2 separate regions of the Homo sapiens genome follow, and region 1 is linked to region 2. The links are contacts of gene promoters, found by promoter capture Hi-C in blood cells and fetal thymus (Javierre and others, 2016). All regions are on one chromosome and are shown on one strand. The core of a region is centred on a gene start or on the middle of the fragment in contact, and the rest is flanking DNA. Distances in the headings are between cores, read along the strand shown.

Region 1 (4,283 bases), core at 433-2,932, 73 kb after region 2:
CTCCTTATGTGTCCCACCTGGTTCCCGCAGGTGCACATGGACATCAATCAATCCTGGGAGAAAATGGAAGCAGCAAGATTACAGGAAGATTCAGAAATAGGAAGGGTGAGCTGGACATGGTGGCTCACGCCTGTAATCCTAGCACTTTGGGAGGCCGAGGTGGGCAGATCACCTGAGATCAGGAGTTCGAGACCAACCTGACCAACATGGTGAAACCCCGTCTCTACTAAAAACACAAAAATTAGCCTGGTGTGGTAGCACACACCTGTAATCCCAGCTACTTGGGAGGCTGAGGCAGGAAAATCGCTTGAACCTGGGAGGCGGAGGTTGCAGTGAGCCGATATCACACACCACTGCACTCCAACCTGGGCGATGGAGTAAGACTCTGTCTCAAAAAAAAAAAAAAAAAAAAAATTCCTCAGACAAGGCCACTGTGGACACTGTGGATTAAGGAATGAAAGAGTGAGAAACATTCTGGGGTCTTCACAGTCTGTGCAGTCCAGGACAAAGAGTGGGCCCCCCAGCCATCCTTCACCACACTGCAGGTCTCTATGCCAGGGGCTGCCAGTGTTCAGAAGCCAAGTTCTCCCCAAAGACTTACCCGGCAGTCGCACAAGCTTTTGGGAGGTCATACAGTCAACATGCACCTTCAAAGGAGGGGCTGGCCCGATCTGGCCTAGGGCCTGCAAGTGGAAAGCAGTCAGCTTTAAGGGAAGGGTGATCCTGGGAGTTGTAGGGAGAGATGTGGTTTTCCCATAAACCAGGCTCTGCACACTCTATACCCACCATCTCTCCCTCTGTAGCCACAAAGCTTTATTACTAGCATGGCTGTTCCATACTCACTCCTCCCTCTTTCTTCTTCCCATCAACACTGGCAGTCTCCCTCCCAGCACATGGGTCTCAGTTACCTCCACAAAGAGTTTGGTGCACTTGATATCGATGATTAGGGGCACGGAGAAGTCAGCGGCCAAGCGTCGGGTGCGGTAGCCCTTGGTGACAAAGGAAGAGAGACGCCGGCCCCCAGCTCCACGCATTGACAGGTTAATCACCAGCTCAAAGTTTTTCTCAGCTAGCTGCTCCAGGATGCTCCGCTGTGGTGGGCACTCACCATCCACAGCCTCCTCAAAGTGCCAGTCCACAGCTGTTACCTGCCAACCCGGAGTCAAGGTCAGGGCCAAGCTGTCTGGCAGCGGTCAGGAAGGCTAGCCTTAAGGGAGAGGAGCTGGCCCAGGAGCCCATGATGAGGAGACTGAGGACCCATAGGGTGGGCACTGAGGGCTGCCTCTATTTGATACTGGCAAAGTGTATTTCTTGGCAGGAAAGATATCTACACTAAGTAAGATGGGTTACCAAGGACTAGGTGCAGTATGAGCTCACACACATGTACACAGAGAAAATCCTGGAAGGAAAAATATCAGAACAGTGGTACAGAGATTTTAAGAGACTTTTCTCTTTGCTTCCTGTGTATTCTGCTTTCTGCATGGAATATAGCTTACTAGTATAATGGTAATAATAAAAGCAGGGGAATAGGAGATAATTCTTTGTTTTTTTTTTTTTTGAGACAGCATCTCACTGTTTCCCAAGCTGGAGTGCAGTGGTGCACTCACTGCACACTCGCAGCTCACTGCAGCCTCTACCTCCTGGGCTCAAGAGATTCTCCTGCCTTAGCCTCCTGAGTATCTGGGACTACAGGTATATGCCACCGTGCCCAGCCCAGATAATTCTTTGGTGCAGTATTTTCACCCCCTTGGGGAAGGGCAGCAGTGGGGTAGGTTGCCAGAGTTCCTGCACCTTGACGCCATGCTCAGTGTAGAAGTCAGCTGTGCCGAGACTGGCATAGAGGCTGTAGCCCAGGCTCTCCAGTAGCCGCACAGTTGGGAGCAGCTCGCTTTTGTTCTGAAACCAAACAGAAGGATGAAATTGTTTTCTTCCTGTCTTCCATTTCAAGGTCAGCCCTGGCCCAGGGAGCCACGGCCCTCGGGAAGCCCTCCTGGATTCTGATACCTTATAGCTGCCAATGGTCAGCAGGATATTCTTCTTGGGGATCTTAAAGCCAGTGCTTAGCATGGCCTTGAGGTATGCCTCACAGCGGCTCTCCCCAAAGCCGGCCACCTCCCCAGTACTGGTCATTTCCACACCCAACACCACGTCAGCACCCGCCAAGCGGGAGAAGGAGAACTGAGGCACCTAAAGGGGCGGGAGGGAAGAGAGAGGGCCAAGGTGTGAGAGGACCTCCTCCCTCACCAGCAGAGACGGACACAGTACCCTGTGCTTGATCCCATCTGAATGGCAGGGTCAGCCTGCCCTCTCTGTGTGCCCTCCTGCTTTCCAAACGTACTTGGGGTCATCCCTCAGCTTCTGCTTAGGATGTGCCCTTGCAAATAAAAAACCTTAACCATCCTTCAAAACTCAATTCAAATAGCACCCCTTCGCTCAAGCCTTCCCAGATCACCCCTTTTGGAAGCAGCACCTCCTGTCTCTTGAACTCCTGCAGCATTCTGTTTACAGGTCGAATATGTAGTTTTACCACGGACTGTTCTATACCAAAGCTTTTTTGGGGATCCAACTTCTCTTCCCTCCCATTACCATAAAGTAAGCTCTTAAGGGACAATGACCACCTCATTACCCCCACGATCCGGCAATGCCTTGCAGTCAGTGCCTGGTTTACATACTGACAACTCTGTGTGGTGAGTGAACTCTCTCCCGCTATTTTTCTGCTAACCCCAAGGGTTTCGATATTCCTTACCTTTACTCCCACGACTCCAGAACCAGTCATTAGCCCCACAGGTTCCACTTCTTCCCCCATGATGACCCGCGTGGCCAAGGCTACTAGGTCCACACCCAGTGTCTTGGAAACGAAGGGGAAGGAGCGAGAGACACGTACGTTGCATTCAATAACTTTCAGCTGGTCATCCTGGGGCAGAGAAGACTGGTCAGGCCTTCTGCAGGTTGGCCTTGCTGACACTATCTATAGGCCTAGACTCTTCCTCTCCGTCCTCAGCTCTGGGGGATCAGACTGAGCAGGGTTCAGGGTCACTGACTGTCATAAGCCCCAACACCATGAGCTCTAGCTACAGCCCTTTCCCTCCAGCTTCCCTGCCTACTTGGATGAAGGCAGGAGACAGTGCAGGGCTTCATGGCACTGTGGCCAGCACAGAACATGCAAGAGCTGTGGCCCTTTAGTTCTTTCCTTTAGCCTTATTACCTTGGCAATGAGCTGCAGATTGAAGGGTCCTGTGACCTGTAGCTCCTGGCCCACAGCATGCACAATGGCTTTGATCCGCTCCAGGGTTTTGGCAGTGATATCTTGTGGGGGGGTCACCAGCGTCGCATCACCTGAATGCACACCTGCATTCTCCACATGCTCAGAGATGGCGATGGCTGCCACCACACCATCAGAGGCCACGGCATCCACGTCAATCTCCTAGCGGGGGGACACAGACAGTGGGACATAGGGCCACTTTCTTCTCTCACTTACTCTAGGATTGTCTCTTCCTTTAACGAGCCCCACATAGCCCACTGTTCCCAGCCCTGGTGCCTATGATTCTGCTGGACCAGAGAAGGAAGTCTCCTCCAGGGCTGGCAGCATGCCCTCAGAGACTTCACTGTCTGCAGCCTCCCACCTTAGCCTCCTGGATGAACTTGGAGATGACCACGGGATGCTCTTTGGAGACGGCTGCTGCGCTGCTCAGGAAGCGCTCCAGGTCTCCATCCGTGTAGGCCACATTCATAGCAGCACCGCTCAGCACATAGGAGGGGCGCACCACACAGGGGTACCCCACGGTCTGGCAGAATTGGCGAGCAGACTACAGGAGGCAGGGAGCTTAGCTGAGTTGTTCACACTTTCCCCCAAGCATCATCCAGCCTCCGGGTAACCCACCAGGTCCCAGCCCACCTCGAGGTCACTGAGCTCCCTCCACTGAGGCTGGCTGATACCAATGGTGTCAAGGAGCCGGGAAAACTTGAAACGGTTCTCAGCCGAGTCAATGGCTTCAGGGGAGGTGCCCAGCACCCGGCACTGCTGCCGATGCAACGCCATGGCCATGTTGTTGGGCAGCTGTCCACCCATGGATAGGATCACACCTTCAGGGTTCTCGAGCTCATAGATGTCCATCACCACCTACGTTGCAGGGGGAGAAACAAGTGGTGGCAGCAAAAGAGGGCAGGAATCTGAGCCTTCCTGCTCACTGCTTCCCTCAGCCGCCACCAAGTTTCAAAGAATCTTAGGTCAGCCAGCTGTTCTACTCGACCCTGGCCACTCAAGCTACCAGGAAGCCTCCATC
Region 2 (4,033 bases), core at 1,503-4,002:
AGTCCCAGCTACTCGGGAGGCTGAGGTGGGAGGATCACTTGAGCCTGTGAGATGGAGGTTGCTGTGAACTGAGATTGTGCCACTGCATTTCAGCCTGGTGACAGAGTGAGACGACCCTGTCTCCAAAAAAAAAAAAAAAAAAAAAAAAAAAAAAGGCTGGACACAGTGGCTCACGCCTGTAATCCCAACACTTTGGGAGGCTGAGGCAGGTGGATCACAAGGTCAGGAATTCGAGACCAGCCTGGCCAATATGTTGAAACCCTGTCTCTACTAAAAATACAAAAATTAGCTGGGTGTGGTGGCAGGTGCCTGTAGTCCCAGCTACTCGGGAGGCTGAGGGAGGAGAATCGCTTGAACCTGGGAGGCGGAGGTTGCAGTGAGCCAAGATCTTGCCACCGCACTCCAGCCTGGGCAACAGAGCGAGACTCCGTCTCAAAAAAAACCCGAAAAAACAAAAAAGGAATACAGACTTATGAACCAAATCCTAAACATTAGGGTCCTTTGCAACACTCTTTGAAACCAGAGCAAGGTTAATTTAAAACAGAAAGATGCTACTTTATATGATAGTCCGTACATTTCGGAAGATGAAATCTCAGCTGGTACAAGACAGATCAATGAACTTAGAAGGGGCCCAGATAGGGGCCCTTTCTGTGATTAACAGAGCTATGCATGGCAAGAGAGCCGCTGAATATTTAGCCTTTGAGGCTCTCAGCCAGGAAACAGAGCTCTGGGATGGCACTAGAATTTGAGCCAGTTGTCCTTTAGTGCAAGCCACACAGGCCCTTCATAGGGTGCTGAAAGGGCTGGGTGTCGTGGCTCACACCTGTAATCCCAGCACTTTGGGAGGCCGAGGTGGGTGGCTCACTTGAGGTCAGGAGTTCGAGACCAGCCTGGCCAACATGGTGAAACCCTGTCTCTCCTAAAAATACAAAAATTAGCCAGGTGTGGTGGAGCACACCTGTAGTCCCAGCTACTTGGGAGGCTGAGGCACGAGAATTGATTGAACCCGGGAGGCAGTGAGCCAAGATTGTGCTACTGCACTCCAGCCTGGGCAACAGAGGAGACTCCATCTCAAAAAAAAGGTGCTGAAGGAAAGAGACCTAAACCTGCCAATCCTTTGTCATGATCCCTCCTTTGCCATTTCATGCTCCCATCTCCAGCCCTTGCTCACTGCTTAGCCTTCCTCCTCTTCATTGTGTTATTCCTGTTCCTTAGGTTGGCCGTTGTCCAATGTGTTGCTGTTATCTGGAACTCCTACCTGTCCTGGAAGGCACATCGGCTCTAAGCCTGCCTCACTCCATCGTTTCCACCTTGCAGTGATGCAGCTTGACCCTGGAACGGTCAGACAACCTCCTCAAAGTGGGCATACCAGTTTCCACGGGGTTGGGTTGCCGGTCAGAGCTTAAGAGGACTAGCACCCTGCAATGCCCCTCTTCACTCTAAAATGTACACTGACTGCTTTAGAGCCCTTGATAATAGTCTTATTCCCACCACATACTAGGCACTCCATAAATATCTGTTGAACCTTCATGACCTTATCAACTTTACACCCATATCCCAGCAAATGCCACTCATCCCCACTCTTCATAGACACATTTGTTACTCTAACCCTGCCTAGGCTTCTTGTAGCTCCAGCTCTTTAGAGACTCCCGGAACCCTTTATATGGTGCCTCAGTAAATATGTTATTAAATATGTAATCCGGAATCTGCAGTGGTAATGAGTAAGTTTTTAAGCAGAAAACTATTGGGGAGTCATTTCTAGAGCTGGAAAGAAGCCAAGAGACCACCAAGCCCAATTTTTTTTTTTTTTTTTTTTTTTTTTTTTGAGACAGGGTCTTGCTCTGTCTCCCAGGCTGGAGTGCAGTGGCGCGATCTTGCCTCACTGCAGCTTCCGCCTCCTGGGTTCAAGCAGTTCTCCTGCCTCAGCCTCCTGAGTAGCTGGGACCACAGGCGCATACCGCCACGCCCGGCTAATTTTTGTATTTTTAGTAGAGATGGGGTTTCGCCATATTGGCCAGGCTGGTTTCAAACTACTGACCTCGTGATCCGCCTGCCTCGGCCTCCCAAAGTGTTGGGATTACAGGCGTGAGCCACCGCGCCTGGCCAAGCCCAGTCTTACAAATGAGGACCCTGAGGTTGGTAGGAGGGAGGTGACCTGTCCACACCAGGAGTTAGCAGAAACTTGAACCCATATTTCTTTGCTGCTCATGGGCAGAGTTACACTGCTGCTATGATTCCCAGGAGAGAAACTGAACTTTGCTAAACTACTTTGGCAAACTCAAAAGCAGATGGGCCAGCCATTTGTGGTCTGAAAGCACTCGGATGCTAGAGACCCTCTGTTACATGGTGCCTGTCAGACAGCCCTACAATTTGGATCCTGGGGCTGGAAAAAGATAAGAATGCTGGGAGACTTTGGTTGTGGCAGACTGCCTCTCAGTGGGTCCCACTGTGTTGGCTGAGTGCCAGCGGTGGACTCCTGATGCCTGCATTTGCAGAACTGATAGCTGCAGGGAGGCAGTGGGTTCCAGCGGCACAGCGTTCTCACATTTCTGGCCACTTCTAGAGGCAGAGGACGGGGTCAGCACCATGGACAGCCTCACGGTCCCGCCTCCCTTTCGTGTGTCAGAACACGCGACCCGGACTAGTCTGGTCTGGGGACGGCCCTAGTCATTGCTGGCTGTTCTAAGCGGGGCGAGGGACTCCCGTGGGTCCCAGAGCAGTCTTTACGCCCCAGCCGGCTTCTCGCTTTCCTGCGTCCAGTGCTGCTTCCAGCGCTAGCCCCAGGGGCACGAAGGCTGGTGTAGGGAGGTGCGCCCCTCCGGGGGCCCGCCAGCCGTCAGACTCGAAGCTGTGGCTGTCATTGCTTCTACAATCAGTGCATGTTCTTCGCTGACGTCAGTCGGAGCTGTCCTGGCACTATATAAGGCTGGCGACAGCCCCGGGACAGACCCTGTGTTCCCCAAGGCGTCTTCAGCCTGCCCCGAGGGACAGAGACTGGAGCTCAATCTTGGACCGTACAGACGCTCGCCGACAACCTGTGAGTGGCTCAGAGCGTCCGCCCAGCCTCCCCCTGCACCAGGACTCCGCTCAGCTCAGCCACCACGCTCCTCCGGGGAGGGAGGCTGGGTGGAAGGGATGGAACAGCACTGGCGCAGTGGCTGGGGCTGGAGGGCAGGCTGCGGGCATTGGGCGGCGGCCGGAGGGGTCGCCGGGCGAGCGCGGGGAGGGGAGCGGCGGCCTGCAGCTGTCCCAGGCGCACCTCACCCTGCGCTGCCCCTGTGTGTCCAGGGCCGGCGGCACCATGAGGCAGGCGGGACGCGCAGCGCTGCTGGCCGCGCTGCTGCTCCTGGTACAGCTGTGCCCTGGGAGCAGCCAGAGGAGCCCCGAGGCGGCCGGGGTCCAGGACCCGAGTCTGCGCTGGAGCCCCGGGGCACGGAACCAGGGTGGCGGGGCCCGCGCGCTCCTCTTGCTGCTGGCGGAGCGCTTCCCGCGCCGCGCGGGGCCCGGCCGATTGGGACTCGGGACGGCAGGCGAGCGGCCGCGGCGGGACAACCCTTCTCTGTCCATTGACCTCACCTTTCACCTGCTGCGGACCCTGCTGGAGCTGGCGCGGACGCAGAGCCAGCGGGAGCGCGCCGAGCAGAACCGCATCATATTCGACTCGGTGGGCAAGTGATGGCCCGGTTTGGGGCTGCGAAAACGTTGACCCCTTTCCCCCACCCCAGAGTTGGGATGCGGGGCAGAGCCACCAGGGCACTGTCTGCGTGACTATTTTTTAATAAAAGTACTGAAGACCCGTTGGCTTTTGTCGTAGAGGCAGGGCAGTCACAGCAGCGTGGGAACCCGTGGGAAGGTGGGGCCCCCGGGCCAGCGGGAGGGGAACAAAATGCTGTGGGGGGCTCCGAGACAGCGGCTTTCAGCCAGGTCAGCCAGGTGCATGTGGACCCCAAGGGTCCCCAAATCCCCAGGACCTCAGAGGTCCCGGCACCACCGCCCCGCCCTCGGCCCTCTTCCCAGGGCGCTGGGCTCACCA

The links. The method cuts DNA at HindIII sites, captures the fragments that hold promoters and counts their contacts. A CHiCAGO score of 5 or more calls a contact.
Region 1: a contact is called between a fragment that was not itself captured here and the fragment with the promoter of UCN in region 2, in 3 of 17 cell types (M2 macrophages, M0 macrophages and M1 macrophages). The highest score is 7.3, in M2 macrophages.

Annotation. Positions count from the first base shown.
Region 1 is chr2:27,233,149-27,237,431 of GRCh38, reverse strand. CAD (carbamoyl-phosphate synthetase 2, aspartate transcarbamylase, and dihydroorotase) reads right to left here. Exons shown (of 44, transcript NM_004341.5): 20 at 3,896-4,120; 21 at 3,624-3,806; 22 at 3,206-3,424; 23 at 2,747-2,914; 24 at 2,005-2,187; 25 at 1,792-1,896; 26 at 909-1,148; 27 at 602-683; 28 at 1-53. Among named protein-coding and RNA genes, the nearest start is that of CAD, 18 kb to the right of the region's middle. The HindIII fragment of the contact is 1,738 bases long and covers 814-2,551 here.
Region 2 is chr2:27,307,164-27,311,196 of GRCh38, reverse strand. UCN (urocortin) reads left to right here and starts at 2,752. Exons shown (of 2, transcript NM_003353.4): 1 at 2,752-3,037; 2 at 3,289-3,797. The coding sequence starts at 3,302. The coding sequence ends at 3,676. It overlaps TRIM54 (tripartite motif containing 54), which reads right to left. Exons shown (of 9, transcript NM_187841.3): 9 at 3,762-4,033. MPV17 (mitochondrial inner membrane protein MPV17) reads left to right here. Exons shown (of 8, transcript NM_002437.5): 8 at 1,216-1,705. The coding sequence ends at 1,285. The HindIII fragment of the contact is 26,108 bases long and covers 1-4,033 here.